Linked DNA regions of Homo sapiens: region 2 is linked to region 1. Evidence: promoter capture Hi-C in 16 types of primary human blood cells and fetal thymus (Javierre and others, 2016). All regions are on one chromosome and are shown on one strand. The core of a region is centred on a gene start or on the middle of the fragment in contact, and the rest is flanking DNA. Distances in the headings are between cores, read along the strand shown. Region 1 holds the start of C1QB (complement C1q B chain). Region 2 overlaps WNT4 (Wnt family member 4).

Region 1 (5,919 bases), core at 2,286-4,785:
GTAAGAATCGTGGGGGCAGGGCCCCTTCCATACATACCTGGCACATAACAGGGACATGAAAAGTGTGTAAGATGGGAAGGAGGGAGAGAAAGACACACACATGCACACACACATGCACACGCACATATATGCACATACACACATATACACATGCATGTAAAGACATGTACATACACACATATGCATACATACACACATATGTATACATACACACATATATGCATATACACACATATGTACACATATACACATACATATATAGGCACATGCACAGACACACACATATGCATACACATACACATATTTATACACATATATACACAGACACATGCAAAGACATCCACACATATACACATACAAAAATATACCTATATACACAGATATACACACGCACACATGTATACACATACACACAGACATACACATATATACACATACACACACATATACACTCATATAGTATCCACACAACACTTAGATATATGCATACACACAGAAACACACATATACGCATATACATGCACATACCCACACGCATATGCATGCACACACATTGACACCCACACATAGACATCCACACATCCACATACATTCACAGACACACACATAGACACACATACACACATAGACACTCATGCACATGTACACACAGATATACACACAGACGCATACACACATACATACACATACACACATACACATGCACACACATACACATACAGAAATACACAGTGGGAGAGCAGGAGGCAGGGGCGGAAGAACCTGGACGGTTCACTGAGTCCAGTGCCCCCGGCGGGGACAGCGTGAAGGCCACGGCCACAGCATCCACTGCTCTCCTCCACCAACCCCTTAGCTGTCGGCCGGGCGAAGCTGTGGGTGATATGTCTTTCTTCTCATTTCTCTTTTGTTTAAAAAATCAATACACCATTTATGTAGGTCACAGTGTCATATCAGAAACCTGTACTTTGGAAATGACAATTTTGTGCCATTTTTATTTTCCATAATTGTTTCCTTGTTGTTCTCTCTTCATCAGGGGGGCAAGCCTTTGAAAATGCCAACGTGTCTGCCTTGCTGAGGGGAGGCGGGGGAGAGTTTTTCAGTGGGGCAGGCAAGGAGGGGTGGACGTGGGGCAGGAGCCAGGACAAGACACCCCAAGCTGCAAGGAACCCCTTTCCAACCACAGGAAGGTGAGGGGGTGTAGGTTTCTTTTTCCACTCTTTGCAGGGATCAGGGATTTTCCACTCTCAATCAGGGATGTGAGTCCAAAATTTTGTAGGTACAGAGACCAGCTGGCTCCCATTAGCGGTCAAGGCCCAGGGACCCCTCAGCTCCTGATCCCCAAGTCCAGGCCTCCTCCTAATCCAGGCATGGCTTCTTTGCTCCTGGGTTCCAAGAATTCCATCTTCTCTTCATATAAGTAATACCGTTCCCATGTTTGCAGTGGGTGCCCACCAAGGGCTGGGCACTCACCTGGCCCTGGACATGGCAGGGGGACCTCGCTGGCCCCCAAAACAGCCCCAGGAGATAGGCGTTCATGCTTCCCATTTCTACACGAGGAAACTGAGGCCAGTAAACATTCCCGTGGCCACATAGTTAGCAAGACGAAGAGCTGGGATTCAAACTGCCAAAGTCCGTGCTCCTAACCCACCTCTGCTGCTTCCTGTTCTTAGCCTCACTGCTTCTACCCCAAATTGACATCCATCTTTTCCCATTGCCCTTAGCCACCTAAGAATTAGAGGCCCAGAGGCTGGGCATGGTGGCTCACGCCTGTAATCCCAGCACTTTGGGAGGCCGAGGCAGGCAGATCAACTTGAGGTCAGGAGTTTGAGACCGGCCTGGCCAACATGGTGAAACCCTGTATCTACTAAAAAAAAATACAAAAATTAGCTGGGCTTGGTGGCATGCACCTGTAGTCCCAGCTACCTGGGAGGCTGAGGCAGGAGAATCGCTTGAACTTGGGAGGAAGAGGTTCTAGTGAGCTGAGGTCGCACCACTGCACTCCAGCCTGAGCAACAGACTGAGACTCCATCTCAAGAAAAAAAAAAAAAAAAAGAACTAGAGGCCCAGAGCCACTCGGCTTTGGGAATGCTCAGAAGCCCTCAACTTGCAACCTACTAACTCGTTTCTCCCTTTGTGGAATCCAGTGTTTCTTCTCTTCACCCTAGCCTGGGTCCCTTCGGGACTATAGTTGACTGAGCTCAGAGACCTTTTGGTTTTATCAAACTTATCTTTCCCTCCTGTTCACCCATTGCAGTTAACACTTAATTTCCACCAAGCTGCATCCACAAGCCCAGTGAATTTCCATCTCCAAGCACAGATGTCAAGAGGGCCTCCAGCTCCTGGTGCTTGCTAGTCATCATGTCGTCTGAGACGCAGCCACAGGGAGAGACTGATATCCTAGTGCCAGGGATGCCGGCTTCCAGGTCTGCATCTGCCACCTCCATGAGGCATCGGCCCCAGCAGTCACGTCTTTCTGTGACATTTATCACAGAAGCAATGAAGCCTCATGTCATTCCGTGTTTAACACCAGTCTCCCCCCGTAGAAGGGAGGCCCCATGGGGGCAGGGACCATGGCTGATTTGCTAAGAGCTCTCTCTTCAGTGCACATGGAAGCAAACACTAAATATTTGTTAAATGGTGGGTCTCCCCTCTGGGCCTCAGTTTCCTCGTATATAAAATGAGGAGGATGGGCCGAGTAACCTCAGCCCCTCTCCGGCCCTAACTTGGCGTGATTCCAGGATCGAGAAGAAGCAACAGGCCCCTGCCTGGGCCTATTATTGTCATCAGCGTCCAGCCCTGCTGGAAGCAGAGGGAGGGGTATCAATAAATAATGAACACATTTAAAATTCATTATGAGATTATTTTCTGAGAACAGGGAAAGAGCAGGGGCACAGAATGGGAAGGAAGCAGAAGAGATGAGCCCAGAAAGGGGAAGCCTGGGACATGAAGTGATATTAACAATGAACACGTGCACAGCCCTTTACAGTTTACCCCCAGACACTTCCTCCCCCATCATTTCCTCCATTATCCTCCCAGTGGCCTGTGAGATCTGTATCTGTAGAGCAGGTACAATTATGGTCCCATCCTATAGCAGAGAAAATTGGGGCTCCCTTGACTGACAACACATCAACTGGCAAGTGGCAGAGGCGGGATTGGAATCAAAGGCTCTGACTGTAAGCCAGCACTCAGGCAGCGGGCCCGCCACATGATGCTCACTGAGGAACACCCCTGCCCAGTGTAGAAGAAGATCACGAGGTCAGAGAGCCTGGGAGGGTGAGCTGTGGATGTTCCCCCAGGACAGCGTGTTCTCCCCACAGCTGCTGAGTTGGCAGAACCAAACTTGCCACCCACCCGTCTCATTTACAGTAAATCCAGTGGGTTGCAGAAATAGGACCTGAAACTGCCTGAGGGCAGCAGGGTGGGGGGACAGTGAGGGGACGGGAAAGGGGCCAGCCTGCTGGTCCATGGGAGGGGACCGTCAGGGGAAAGCCCTTCCCGCCTCTGGGGAAGGGAACTTCCGCTTCGGACCGAGGGCAGTAGGCTCTCGGCTCCTGGTCCCACTGCTGCTCAGCCCAGTGGCCTCACAGGACACCAGCTTCCCAGGTGAGGACGGGGCTTGGCGCCTGGGGGAGGCTGGCAGGGCCAATATGGCAGAAAGTGGTGATTCCGTAAGTGTGAGCTTTGCGTCACCTGCCTCGGAGCCAGTTAGGCTGTTTAACAGTGCAGGTAGCTGGGCCCAATCCCAGACCTATGGGACCCAGATCTCTGGGGTGAGTTGGGGAGTCTGCTGCTACCCAGGGCCTAGCGGATGGGCAGGCCACCTAAAGCGGGAGCCTGGCACATAGGAGCTTTGGCATCGCAGAGACTTGAGCTGAGTCTGGCTCTGCACCTTATGTATTGGTTATCTTGGGCAAGTCACCTAACCTCTCTCAGCCCGGCCCCCCTACAGAGAACAGAATCTTTCAGCACTGCTGTGCCTTACAGGAGATCAAGCTTGCAAAAGCTTAGTGCATGCCCTGGCTCAAAATTTATCAGTAAACCAGAGGCAGGAGTGGGATTATAAGCCAGTCGCTCCTGCCCGGCCCAGCATTTCCCCAACACCTTGCTTATTTCCTCATACTCGCTGAGAAAGCTCAGCTTGACTCTTCCAAAGAAATAAGGGGATGTGCAGGTAGAGTTACGATGAGTTCTCAGCTAGTACTGAGTGAGCGCAATGTTTGTGCAGCTGGGGAGTGGGATGTGGCACTGCACGGGGCAGGGGGGACCTTATTTCTTCTAAGCGCCTTCTCCTGTCATCCTTCTGGCAGCCCTGTCAGGTTGAAATCAGCATTGCCAAGAGGCTCAGAGAGGTTAAGGCACTTGCCTGAGGTTATGCAGCCGGTAGCAGATGGGGCTTTAAAGTCAAGTGGGCCTGACTCCATGTTGCGGAAAGGGACTGCTGGACCGAAGGAGATGGAAAGGTCAGAGCCTGGGGGGAGGACAGGAGAAACCGCGCTGGCAATGATGATGGGCTGGCACAGGCAGGAGGCAGTTAAACCAGATGAGTTGTAAGCCCTAACCCAAGGCTGAAACTCGGTGGCTTTTGAAATGGGCTAGAACCAGCACTTTCCCACTCCCCCTGCCCCTGGCTTCCCCAGGAAGCCCAAGTCCTGTCAGTACCCTGCTCCCCACCCTCTCTCCCCACCAACTGGTCACAGCTCTCCACCCCTTGCTGCCTCCAACTGACAGAGCCCCTCCCTCTAAACACAGTCTTTCAAAGGGATTGTCTTTTTTTACTTCTCCAACCATCTTCCCTTCTGTTCAACCACTCAGGAATTCTTGGATGACAGTGATAATAATAAAATAGCTAATATTCATTAAGAATTTCCAACATGCCAGGCTCTGTTGGAAGCTGTAACTCATGTCCTCGCACATACCCTATGAGGGAGAGAGTAGCATTATCCCCACTTTATAGGAGGGTAAACTGTGGCCAGAGAGAAGGAGTGATTTCCCAAGTCCCTTAGCTAAGAAGCAGTAGAGACCTTATGTGAACGCTGAGTGTTGCTTTCCTTGTGACACTACAGGCTCCCGCCACCAGGTGAATGTGTGCTGCCTAACAAGAGCAGCAATCATCGTGGTGGTAAAAAGCCACTTTCACCGAACACTGACCATGTGCCTACCACTACCCTTGGTGTGTCCCATGCATTAGTCCTTTTATCAGGCTGTCTGGCTTCAAAGTTTATGTTTTTACCACCAGGTACAGTGGCCTCTTAACATAACATTGAGTTTTAAGATCCAGTGGATGTGGGTTTGACTCCCAGCCACACAGGAGCTGTGTGACTTTTATCAAGGTGCTTGCCCTCTCTGATCCCGTTGCCTCATCTGTAAAATAAGAAAGCAAGAGTGCATTCTCAGGGGCTGAATATCAAATTACAGGGGATAATGGCATGCAAGCCATCTGGCTCAGAGCCTGGCCTATACGTACCCAACTTATTAAAGTTGTTAAATTGCCATTTTGTAAAACCTTTAGCAAGAGCAAGAGTGAGAGCTGATGCTTATTCATGGATAAGCAGGACCATGCCCCTGAGCCACCCTGTCTTCAGAGCATAGAGCCTGACAGAACCTAAAGCTGTCACCAGCATTCCCTGGCCACACTCATCTTTACAGCTTCCTTTCCTTGGTGCACAGTGTCTGGCATAACTCAGGGCTTTCAGCAAGAAATTGATCAGGACTAGGCTGAGGGGCTGAGGCTGGTTTGCAGAGCATAGGAGCCAAATATCAGTAGGCCTTGTCTGGTCCCAGGGAGCCCTCCACATGCCAGACTCTGGGGTTGGGACAGCCAGCATGTGGCAGAGAGGGTAGGAGTTTGGCCACAACCCTGCTGTTAGAATAGTTTGCTGGGTGATTTTTGGGTAGGTTGCTTTCTAAGTTCCGATCCTC
Region 2 (5,919 bases), core at 2,160-4,659, 520 kb before region 1:
CTCAGCCCTGCCTGGGTGCTCTCCTGCCTGTGCCCAGCCAAGGGGTCGCCTGTGGAGCCAGTCCCACCTGTTGCTCTTGGCCTGCAGGGGGCGCCAAGAGCCCGGCTACTGGCTGTGGGCCAGGTCCACGTTCAGGCCACAGGTGTCCCTCGGTGGGGGGACAAGGAATTGAGCCTGACGTTGGATCCTTTCCTGCTCAGACCGAGGCTTGGCCTCTTGGAGAAGGGTGGGGGCCCTGTTTGCTCTATGATGTGGGGGCACAGAGCTGGCCCATCCCCAACTCAGTCTCTGCTCCCACAGCATGCAGCCAAGAAGGCTGCATCTGGCTGTGCTGGGCCCTGGGCTCTGGTCAAGGGAGGCACCCAAGGGCAGGGGTTCTCTGGGCAGGGGGGGCAGCCTCTGACCCACCATGACCTTGGGCAAGTCCCTGCCATACTTGGAGCCTGTCTCCTTATGGGTACAGTAAACCGGTGGGTCCATATGGCCTTTCCCACTGTCGGAGTTGGTGGGCCTCCTTCTACTGGCAGGGTGGGGAGTGGCCGGGCCTCAGGGGCCTGCTGGCCCCATGCCAGGCTGATAGATGTGTCTCTGCCATTGAATAAGTAGTAAGATGGACCAGGGGAGCCACCTGCATCCCCCCACCCAGGCTCAGAACTCAGCAAGGGGAGACTGGCTGAATGACAGTCGCAGGGGCTTAGGGTGAGCTGCTGGGCTGCCGTGGCCGTGAGTCACTGGGCCAGCTTCCAGGAAGGAGCTGAGCAACCTCTTCCGTTGGCACCAGTGCCCACCCCCAGCCCCTGCCTTCATCTGGCACAGCAGCTGTCCCCTTCCGTACACACGAGGCCCAGCCCCATCCCCACCCCTGTTCCCCCAGACCCCAGGGTCTCGCCCGGGCAGGGCTGGGTGCCAGGGCTGGAAATGGAACCGGGCACCGGCTCTAGAGAGTGAGAACCCCAGGCATTACAGGCCCTCATCCACAATGTTTCTGCTTGCCCGTTTCAGTATCCAACTAGCATTTGGCTCCATTTCACAGATGAACAAACTGAGGCTACGGAGATAAAGCAACTTGCTTAAAGTCCCACAGCTAGAGCGGCGAGCTGCAGTGCAAACCCAGCCCTAACTCTCAACTCTCTTTCCTCTGTACCTGGCTGTGGATATGCCCCATTTACCTGCTGAGGGGGGCTAACACTGCCCTTGGTGCCTCACACAGGGCACAGTGCATAGAAGGTGTTTAATAAATGCCTGCAGCAGGATGGAGGGCTCTGTCCTGACGGGGTTCCCTCTGCTTCCCTCCTGGCAGAGTGCTCAGGATGGGGAAGATAAGGATGAGGGAGGAATGTGGGGGCTGCTGTGGTCTTTTGATCTGCTGAGAGCCTGGAGACCCATCAGGGCGAGGCCTGATTAGTACTGGACACCTCAGGATTCCCAGTGCCCTAGGGTGGCTCAACCCCAGAGACACGTGTGCCATCCGCTGACCCTGGAGCTGGACCAGGCTCAAAAATGGAGTGCACCAGCCCTTTCTAGGGGTGACAGAGAGCCAGGGCGTGATGGGTGGGCCGGGCCAGGCTGTGCAGGGCCTTGGCCATCCCTGAGGCTTCTCCTGTCGTGGCTGCATTGCCCCAATTTAGGCTCCTTCCTGCCACCACGGAGTACAGGCTTAGCAATTTGCCACCTGCTGCCCTGGCCACCCAGGACTCTCGCCATGGCCATGCCGTTGATCAGGTTACCCCACCAGCCCAGACCGCCCCTGCTGCTGCTACCAGCCAGCTCATGCCCTGATCTTCTCCAACGGGGGCTGCAGGTCCTGCAGGCTCCTCCCAGGAGGCCCTCCCCGAGCCCGGCCCGTGCCTACAGCCTGCGAGGCTGGAGGGCCCTTGCCCTGCCAGGGAGATCAGATCCTCTCAGCCACCTGCTGTTTTCATTAGAAACTAAAATTAGCTGGGCTTGTCCCAAGCTTTTCCAGGTTTGCTTGCTTTTTAAAAAAAATATACAAATTCCTAGAGGAAAATCTGCACCTCTGCGACTCCTCCCAGCTCTTACGCTGTGAGTCAAGAGGAGAGGGGACGGGAAATAGCTGGAGCGTTTGGGAGGCCAAGCAGATCAGTGTCGTGGGTCCCGGCCCTGCGGGTGTCCAGGTGGGGGCTGGGACGCCAGCGCAGGCCTCTCTGCCCCCTCCCTTTGGCCTCCCTGCCTGCCTGGGCCACATTTAGAGCCTCCTCAGGAGCGGTCGTGCCTGCGATACCAGGGAGGAAGGAGGCCAAGTGGGTGGGAGGGGGAGCCGGAAGAAAACGGAGTGGCTGCTGAACAGAGCTGCCTTGGGGGATGCGGGCCAGTGGGGGCGAAAGTGACCACAGTCCCCATCTAGGACTGTGTTCTTAGGGGGATGGTACCTGGTTTCCCAAGATCCTAACCATACCCCCCACTCACTTTTACATCTTTGAATGTTTCTATAACCACAGTCTTGGTATCCTGCTGTGCTCCCCCTGATGGTGCCCTAGCCTTGGAGACCCTTGTCTTTTGGCATGGCAGGCAGTGCAGAAAGGACATGGACCAGGGACTCCTGGGTCCAAATGTCATCCTTGTGTTGCTTGAAGCAAGTTAGTGAACACCTCTGAGCCTCAGCGTGTTCATCTGTAAAGTGGGGAGACTGGAATTCCTGCACGCAGGAGGCCTAAATGAATGAAATCTGTGTGCAGGAGATGCTCGTCCCTGCTGCAGCATTGTCCTAGCAGCACCTTCAAGATGCTCACTGTCATCGGTGCCGTCACCACCCCTCCCACAGCCTCTCCCAGTTCCTCTGGCCACCCCTCTGCTGCACCCCAGACCAGACCCATGCTGACTTCTGCTCATTTGTGTGTGTGTTTTTTTGCTTGGGTCTCTTGGCCCTCTTAGTCCTGGGTTCCCAGTCTTTTTTTCAGCTGATCATGCCTGAGAGGTGGGACACGCTCCCCCGGGGTACAGTGGATGACCTCAGCAGCCATCCCAATGGCAGGCTTTTGACAGAGTCTCCAGATGAAGTCTGCAGAGTTTGAGGATGTGTTTCCTGGCGACTGTCAGTCAGACCCTCTGAGGCTGGGGAGTGTGAGAGATGGGTGGAGGGGATGGTGCTGCTAGGACATCAAGAGCTGGGACACTGGGGTGAGGGCAGGGACAGTGGTGTGCAGGACAAGCTCAGGAGTGTCAAGGGGACTTGGAAACCATTTGTGGGCATCACAGAGTGGATGCATGGGACCTTCACTTATACTCTGCAATCAATAGTCACGTGCTTCAGTATGTCCTTAGTGCAACAGCACAGGGCTGGCTAGGCAGGTGTCTTCCCCTCTGTTTCGCAGATGAGGAAACTGAAGCTCAGAGAAGCATGTGTTTGAGCCCATGCAGCCTGCAGTGGAAGGTCAGGATTTGAAAACGGGTCACTCTGGCTCCTAAGCCAAAGATGACCCAGGGTACTGAGGCATGAAGTTTGGCAGTCAACAGACAGTGACCTGAGGGAGGAGGCCTGATTCTTCCCTTGATGGGTCTTTCTAGAGCCCCATGTCTTTTCTGAACTACAGTGAGGTGTCTGGGCTGTGTTCAGGAGTAAGGGGTGCTGGGGACAGATGTCTGGGTGGTTACGGGACTGCCTGGACAGTATGGAAGCCTGTGGTCTCTGTAGCTGTTGGGGCCATGGAAGGGTTGCTGCCACTGGTCCAAAACCCCTGGAGGGGCAGGCTTTGGAGACACTCATGGTGGTTTGCAGGGCAGTGGGTGCTGCCTTCACCCCTCAGCCTTAGCATGGTCCTAGGTCTCTCAAGGCCCAGGCCAAGTCCTCTTGGCCTCAGGTGCATTTCCTCAGGCGGAGAGAGAGAACGGCCTCCCCTGGAACCCAGGCCTCCACCGCCAGTGCACACCACTCTGCACCTTTGGGCCCCTTTCCCTCTTTCCTGTCTCCTGGGACCCCTCGCTCCCATCTCCTATCCTTGGAAGCCTCAGTGCCCTCATTTTCTGACTCTTGGTTTCCCAATTCTCATTACTTCCAGTATCCTGGTACCCTAGCCCCCTACATTTCACTCCTGAGGGCTCTGTGTCCCCCACTTCCTGTTTGGGAGCCCCCAACCCCATTTCCCATCTCACTGTATGTATTCCCAGCGAGCTGGTGGCTGCCTCAGGGCCACAAAGTAGCCCCTTGGACCTGAGCCTGGATGGCCCCAGAGCTCTGCCAGGTGAGAACTTGCCTTCTCTCCCTGAGGCAGGTGTGTTGTTGGGGGGAGTGGGTATCAAATTTAAGGCTGGTCTGACCTCACCTTGTCCCCCAATTTGCCAGCAGAGAGCTCTTCCTTTGCTAGACCCATCCGACCTGTGTCCCCACAACCTTTCATGTCCTGTGGCCACTGACCCATTGAACTGTCCTCCCTGCTGGGCTGAGGGAACCTGGGGTTGGGGAAAGAGGAGGGACAGGTGAAACCCCAGCAGAACTGTCCAGAGCCAGTGCTGGCCTCCTGGAGTGAGGCTCCCGGTTTCTAGTGAGTTCATCGGCCTTGGGGGATACCTTCCAAAGGCCCAGTCCTAGGAGAGCCTGTGGCTGAACCCCTACTCCCACCCCCACCAGGGTGGGGCTCATCCCCCCAGCAGAGAATAACTGGCTGGGGGTACAGGGCTGCAGGGCTGCAGGGCTGCTGTCAGCGGCTGCGGGAACAGCTCTGGGAGACCTGGGATGGAGTCCTGGTTCTACCACCGCCATGCTGTATGGTCCTAAGTGCCCAGCACAGGGCCTGATGTGAGGAAGTGCTCGACATGTTTGCCTGGGGGCATCCCAGGCCCTCCCTGGCAGGAAGGTTCCCCAGGGGGTTGACTGAGAATCCCCAAGAACCCCCTCACACTCATGCCTCGAAGCTTGGGTTGCCGGAACAGCTGGGCACCCGACTCAGGAGGGGCTATTCTGCTGTCTCCAGCCCTTGGGGAAGGGTCTCTAGGGCCCAATCCTGGGATTTCAGGGCTTGTGTGTGAACAGATTGAGAAATAGGGTCTGAAGGGACCATTCACAGTCATCTCGGGGAAGGGCCCTGAGGCCCATCAGCATTCCTGCTGTTCTAATGGGCCTCTCCAAAGATACATGTGAGCTGTCCGAGGCTCCTCTCCCCTGGAGGACGCATCCCTTCCTCCTCCCACCTCCCTCCCGCTCTCTCCTCAGACCAGGTCCCCTCCTCTGCGGGGTCTGACTTGGCAGGGAACTTTCAGAACACAGTTTGGTTTCAGTTTGCCAGGACATGGGGGAGGGGGAGCTGGTGGGGTCACGGCAGGGAGCGAGCCGTCCCGAGTTTGGCTGAATCACAGAAGATGCAGTTCAGGACTCAGAGATAAAACCTGGCAACTCCTGTGGAAATCTGGAGAGCAACCCTGGGGTCGCAGCTCTGCCTGCAGCTGCGCCTGCTCCATGCAGTGAAGGGGTGACTGGAGGGCCCACGGCAGGCAGCTGTCACCCCACCCATGGCTCCCTGGCCAATCTGCGCCCCACTGGCTAAGCCCAAGCCCCTCTTCCCAGAGGCAGGAACAAGAGGAGGAGGCTTGGTGCAAATGCTCAGCTTTCCCAGTGTACCCACAGAGCCTGAGTTGGGCGAGTTTCAACAGGTTTGGGGAGCACTGTCTTGTCAGATGCTTGCTGTGTTGCTCAATTGCTAATCCAGGGCTGAGGGAAGAAAGTCAAACCATAGCAGACAGCTGGGTCGTGACTGCTGCCTGAGCAACCCCCTCGGGCAGAGCCTGGTCCTGGGGTGCTGCAGTGCTGGGGGAGAAACACTCAGCCTGGCTCTCAGGGTCTGTTCCGGCCCAGCAGTGAGGGGCAGAGCAGCAGATCGGGGGGGCAACAGACACACTTCCTGCCACCCACCTCTGTGCCTTTTAGTATCACCTGAGCCTCAGGGCAGTGGAGCAGAGCCTTCCTCC

What was found. The method cuts DNA at HindIII sites, captures the fragments that hold promoters and counts their contacts. A CHiCAGO score of 5 or more calls a contact.
Region 2: a fragment that was not itself captured here is called in contact with the fragment with the promoter of C1QB in region 1 in 4 of 17 cell types (megakaryocytes, erythroblasts, activated CD4 T cells and 1 more); the score reaches 7.1 in megakaryocytes.

Annotation. Positions count from the first base shown.
Region 1 is chr1:22,649,701-22,655,619 of GRCh38, forward strand. C1QB (complement C1q B chain) reads left to right here and starts at 3,536. Exons shown (of 3, transcript NM_001378156.1): 1 at 3,536-3,603. The HindIII fragment of the contact is 5,474 bases long and covers 1-3,991 here.
Region 2 is chr1:22,131,991-22,137,909 of GRCh38, forward strand. All of the region lies in intron 1 of WNT4 (Wnt family member 4), which reads right to left. Among named protein-coding and RNA genes, the nearest start is that of WNT4, 8.1 kb to the right of the region's middle. RefSeq lists enhancers at 1-101, 102-860, 1,200-1,925, 4,180-4,693. The HindIII fragment of the contact is 2,915 bases long and covers 1,953-4,867 here.